Regions from separate parts of the Homo sapiens genome. Here region 1 is linked to region 2. Evidence: promoter capture Hi-C in human tissues and cell types (Jung and others, 2019). All regions are on one chromosome and are shown on one strand. Each heading gives the region's core, a stretch centred on a gene start or on the middle of the fragment in contact. The rest is flanking DNA. Distances are from core to core; before and after follow the strand shown.

Region 1 (2,700 bases), core at 86-2,585, 1.3 Mb after region 2:
ATAAAGCAGAGACAACAGGCAGGCTGGGCCATTTCTTTGATCATTCATTCATTCATTGAGCTGATACTACTGAATACTTCCTGTGTGCTTTCTAAGCACTGGGGATAAAGCAGTGGACAAATCAGACAGCTACCTGTTTTCACAAAGTTACATCCTAGTCGGGGAGACAGAAAATAAGCAGGCAAATAAATAGAATAGTTTCAAACCAGATGAGAGCTAGGAAGGAAATTTTTTAAATAATGAAATAGCATGACTAAGGGAAGAAAGAGGGTGGTCGAGGAGGGCCTCACCCAAAACGAGACATCTGACCAGAGGAAGGAGCAGAAAGAGCTACTTGTGCCAAGATCACGGAGACAACTCCAAAGACGGGGAAACAGCAAATGCAAAGGTCCTGGGGCAAATGCGGGCTGGCATGTTCAAGGCGGGCGAGATGAGTGGGACGGGGCAGCAGTCTTCTGGGGGAGGGGCGCGGTGGTAAGGGATTCGGGCTGGGTCCCCTCTGGCACTGCTGGACACCGAGTGTGCAATGACAAGGCAAGAGAGGAGTGCGCGGGGAGGCGGGAGGCTGGGCGGGTGGGGAGGGGGTTCCTACACCACTCACACCAGCACGGGCCAGCACCCTGCCCAGTCTTCCACAGATGCACACCGGGGTCCTGCCCAGGCGTCTGCATACATTCACACAGCCTGACAACAACCCTGTCCAGAAGAGACATTTCCCCACCTTCCCGAAGGCAAAACCGCGGCAGAGCGAGGGTCAGTGCCTTGGCCAAGGTCGCGGGGACGCGACCCCGGGCCCCTGGGCACCCGGCGCAGGAGTGCAGCTGTCTGCCCCACCTCCGGGAGGGATGGCGCCCGCAGACCCCACGGGCAGGTCGGCCGGGCCAGGCCGGTGAGCAGGCCCGCAGCCCGGGGCTGCTGACAGCCGGGCGGAAGGGGGCGCCTGCGGCATCCCCCAGCACAGGGGCGACGGCTGCGGCTGCCAGGGCCCCGCAGCCCCCGGCCCGCCCCGAAGCCCCCGGCCGCGCGGTTCCCTCACCGCCCCTCCCCGCGGGCCCGGCCCGAGCAGCCGCCGCCAGGCCTAGCCCGCCCGCCGGGCTCACCTCGCCTCCCCGCCGCCGCGCCACGGGGAGAGGGCGGGCGGGCGGACTGGCGGCGCTGCGTGCTAGTCACTCCTGGCTCCGCGGCCCCGGCTCCGCCGCCGGCCCGCCCCGCTCCGCTCCGCCCCGCCGCCGCCGCCGCCGCCGCCGCCGCAGTGGGTGTGAGGGGCGCCGGGGCGCTGCGACCCTTCCGGTCCCGCTCCCTTCTCCGCCGCTGCCGCCGCCGCGGCGCCCGGTCTGACAGACCCTCGCGCCGACCAATCAGCGCGCGGAGAGCGGAGCAGGCGCGGCCAATGGCGCCTGGGGGGCGGGCCGATGGAGGGTGGCGCGGGCGGGGTCGGGGGCCGGGTCGGGCGCCCGAGGTCCTGGGCCGGGGTTCCGCGGGTTCTTCGCCCCCGGGCCTTTCAGTGGCGCGGGCCGAGTGGCCATGGCGCTCGGGTGCGCGCAGTGCACGCGGTGAGCTGGAGACGCAGGCATTGCGCGGCCCACCGGCTGAGCCCGCTCTCCCTGCGAGGGGGGCGCAGCTCGGTGGAGAGGGTGGCCCGGAGGACCGGGAACCGGGCTGGAGGCGCGCGGGGCTCACACCGCGGGGTCCGCGGGGAGCCGGGCCTCGGGCTGCAGGTGCAGGCTTGTGGCGGTGAGGCGACTGGAGCGGCACGGGAGCCCGCCCGTTTCGGGGAGAGCCCGGGGCGATCGCGGGGGGAGGCCGGCCTGGCGTCCGGGAGCCCGGCGTGCTAGGGCCCGGTAGGCGGGGCGGGCCTCGCACTCGGTTGCTCGCTGCGGCGCCGGAGGAACGGGTCTATGGGGGTGTGGGTGAGGCCAGAAGCCGGGTCGAAGAGGGGGAGGGGGTGCGAAGAGATGGCGGTGTGTAGACAGGTGACCCGGTGGGTCGGTGACGCAGGAGGAGACTGCGCTTGGTGGCGGGATCACTTAGTTGACAACATCTAAAAATTAGGAGGTGCGGCAGGGCGCGGTGGCTCACGCCTGTAATCCTAGAACTTTGGGAGGTCGTGGCGGGTGGACTACCTGAGGTGAGGAGTTCGAGACCAGCCTGGCTAACCTGGTGAAACCCCGTCTCTATTAAAAATACGAAGCAATGAGCTGGGCGTGGTGGCGGGCGCCTGTAATCCCAGCTACTCGGGAGGCTGAGGCAGGAGAATCACTTAAACCTGGGAGGCGGAGGTTGCAGTGAGCCGGGATTGCGCCATTGCACTCCAGCCTGGGTGACAGAGTGAGACTCTCTCAAAAAAAAAAAAAAAAAAAAAAAAAAAAAAAAAAAAAAAAAGGGAGGTGCTCAGTCAAGCCTCTGAGAGGAGTGGGGGGCGGGGCGAGGAGTCTCTTGCTCAGAGCCCCCTAGGGACTGGGACCCGTTGACTCTGAGCTGCTTTTGAGGCTGGATCAGGTACCAGCGGCCTGGGGGTCGTACAGGATGGGAGAGGCCGGGGCTTGGGATGTTGCCAGATCTACGTTGAAAAGTGAAGCAGGAAGAGAGGCACTGAGGCTGGGCACATGGGGAAAACCGTGGAGAGCCGGCCTTTGGGGACTAGAAGAGTGGGAACAATGGTTGACAAATGGTGAGTGTGGTGTAGAACAGCAGTAACAC
Region 2 (2,700 bases), core at 174-2,673:
ATAATGGTCTATAACTGTCATATCTTTATTATTATTATTTTAAAATAATAATTAAATATAGAAATAACATATGGTCCAGAAATGGAATTGCCCATGTGTTAATTCTACATTTAATTTTTTTTTGAGGAACTGCCATACCGTTTTCCAGCGCAGCGCTACCATTTTACATTCCCACCATTAAGGCACAAGGATTGTTTTCTGGTTTTCTTTTTTTTCCAAATTTTATAATAGCCAACCTAATGAGTGTGAAATCGCAGTGGATGTTTGATCTGCTTTGATCTGCATTCCCCTAATGATTAGTGATGTGCATTATTATCTTTTAACAATATAAAACATCCATTTTGTTCGATTTAATTATTTTTACATTGCAATAATCTTTGTATTGTTGTAACATCGTGATCCAAGATTTCTTTTTCATATTATCTACCTGATATCTCTTAGTCCCTCTCTGCATTTTCTATCTTCAAGTACCCTTTGTGTTTAGGTTTGTCTCTGTAAACGCTAATGTTTGATATTTTAAAAATCAACACTTTCTGAGCACATAGTATTTGGCGTGTACAGTGCCGGTCACCGAGGATGCAGTTGTGATGATAGCGCTGGGAGTTGGGCTTTATTTTACGTTTTAAAGAAGTCACTTCAAAAGAAGTGAGTGCCATGAAGAGGGAAATACTAGGCTTATGCTTTTGTTTTACTCTGAGTGCCAGTAAATATGTAAAGATTACAAAAATTTATTTATTTATTTATTTATTTATTTGAGACAGAGTCTTGCTCTGTCACCCAGGCTGGAGTGCAATGGCGCGATCTGAGCTCACCGCAACCTTCGCCTCCCAGGTTCAAGCGATTCTCCTGCCTCAGCCTCCCGAATAGCTGGGATTACAGGCATGTGCCACCACGCCCGACTAATTTTTCGTGTTTTCGTAGAGACAGGGTTGCACCATGTTGGCCAAGATGGTCTCGGTCTCCTGACCTTGTGATCCGCCCACCTCGGCCTCCCAAAGTGCTGCGATTACAGGCATAAGCCACCGCGCCCGGCCGAGATTATAAAATTTAGACATAATTCATTTTTAATTAAAATCGCAGAATGGACTGTAATAGTTCTGTCACCACCTGCGAATAATCAGCAGCGGCTAGTCTTCCAGATTTAAAAATTCATACTCACTTTTCCGTCTTACTATTTTTGTCATTCTAATTACGAATACAATGGGTGGTTTAGCGGAGGGAGAGTAGTTGGAGCCCAAGCTGAGGGACTCGGCTTCAGCCTTCTCGAACTCCACAGCCCGACCGCGTTCTCCGCTCTCGGCGCTGTGGTTCTCTCTCGGACACCGTAAGTGGTGGTGCCGCAGCGACGTCTGGGAAATGAAGTCCGGAGGGACAAACGCTGCGGTTCAGCCAGGGAAACCCGTCGGCTCTCCGGCGCGCAGGCGCAGTTGCGCCCGGCAGCGACGGGAAACGTCTCTGAATTAGGTGTTCCGCTCGCCTCTTGTGCGGTGTGGAGCTGCGCGCCCCCCGCCGAGGCGGGCCCAGGTACAGGCTGCCGGTGAGGGCGGGCCCGGGGCGTGCGGCTGCCGCGGCGGGACCAGGACGAGGGCTGGCCTCTGCGCGTGTCTGCCGAGTCCCCGGCTCCGGGCGTCCGAGCCGGGGCGGCCTCGGCAGGTGAACCCGGCCCCGGAGGGGGCGTGGCCTGGGAAGGGCCTGGCGGAGGCCGGGAGGGCGCTTCGACGCCGCTGGACTCCTGGGCCGCAGCCTGGGCCGGACTCCGGGGGAAACGGCTCCAGAACAGAAACTGCAAAATGCCGCCTCGGTTCAGGGTCCGGAGCCCTCCGGGCGGTTTTTCGCTCTTAGTGTTTGTGGGTTTAAGCCTCCCCCTACTCCGTTTCCCGGAGTTTAAACTTTAGATTTACTCGTTTTTGGCAGTCTTGCACGTTTGGCAGTGTTTTCCTACAGCCAGTCCTAGAGTGATTTAACTATTTCTTTTTTTATTTACCGTAACCATGTCCACTTGCTACGTTTCTTCCCATTTCTCTAAATTTTAAATCAATTTCTAGCTAGTGATGCTGTTTTCTTGCGCCCTTGTTTTTTTGGGGCCAGGGAGAATGGGTAACGCTACCTTTAAGCAGCTTTGATAACTGTTTTTGATAAAGGAAGTAAATCTTACAAGAGGAAGAAAAGAGGACTAATTTTTGGTTGGCTGTTCCTAAAAAAGAGCATCAGTTCTTCAACTGCTGTTTTTCGTATTGAACAACATCCAAGTGCAGATGTGTGGAATATTGTGTCATTTCCTATTACTTTATCTGAATGAGCCTTGCCTGATTCTGCCCTTGACCCTGTTAAGGCACGGCAGATGGTCTTCATCCCTTCGCTCCTTTCGTCTTTATCGTAAAGCACTGGCAGAAAGGTAGCAGGCCCGGTGACTCTGAACCTGCTTCCCACACTGGTTTAAGTGGCCGGACTTAGGGCCCCTCTGGCCTGGGCAGTTCCAGGCTCCTTCTCTGCAGGTGCTCAGCTTATGGCTTCTAACCTGGTCTGGCCTAATGAGGGTGGGCATGCAGGCTGGATGAAAAGACCTCACAGCTTTTTTCTCCATTCCAGGTGCCTTCTCCAAGAGAGGCAGCAGGGAGGGAGAAATGGCAAGGAGGTTGCTGCCAGCCCATGTACAGGTGAGTGAAGGCTTCTTTTTGCTTGAACTGCCTTCAGGGTCTA

The links. The method cuts DNA at HindIII sites, captures the fragments that hold promoters and counts their contacts. A contact is called where the count stands out against the background at its distance.
Region 1: the fragment with the promoter of MAPK9 here is called in contact with the fragment with the promoter of ZNF879 in region 2 in 1 of the 25 tissues and cell types used here (aorta).

The regions. Positions count from the first base shown.
Region 1 is chr5:180,290,748-180,293,447 of GRCh38, forward strand. It overlaps MAPK9 (mitogen-activated protein kinase 9), which reads right to left and starts at 1,336. Exons shown (of 12, transcript NM_002752.5): 1 at 1,101-1,336. It overlaps LOC124901151 (a long non-coding RNA gene), which reads left to right and starts at 1,485. Exons shown (of 2, transcript XR_007059085.1): 1 at 1,485-1,553. RefSeq lists silencers at 852-1,041, 1,172-1,541, 1,552-1,891 and an enhancer at 1,814-2,456. The HindIII fragment of the contact is 17,371 bases long and covers 1-2,700 here.
Region 2 is chr5:179,022,381-179,025,080 of GRCh38, forward strand. ZNF879 (zinc finger protein 879) reads left to right here and starts at 1,424. Exons shown (of 5, transcript NM_001136116.3): 1 at 1,424-1,524; 2 at 2,590-2,657. The coding sequence starts at 2,625. RefSeq lists an enhancer at 1,052-1,553. The HindIII fragment of the contact is 17,237 bases long and covers 1-2,700 here.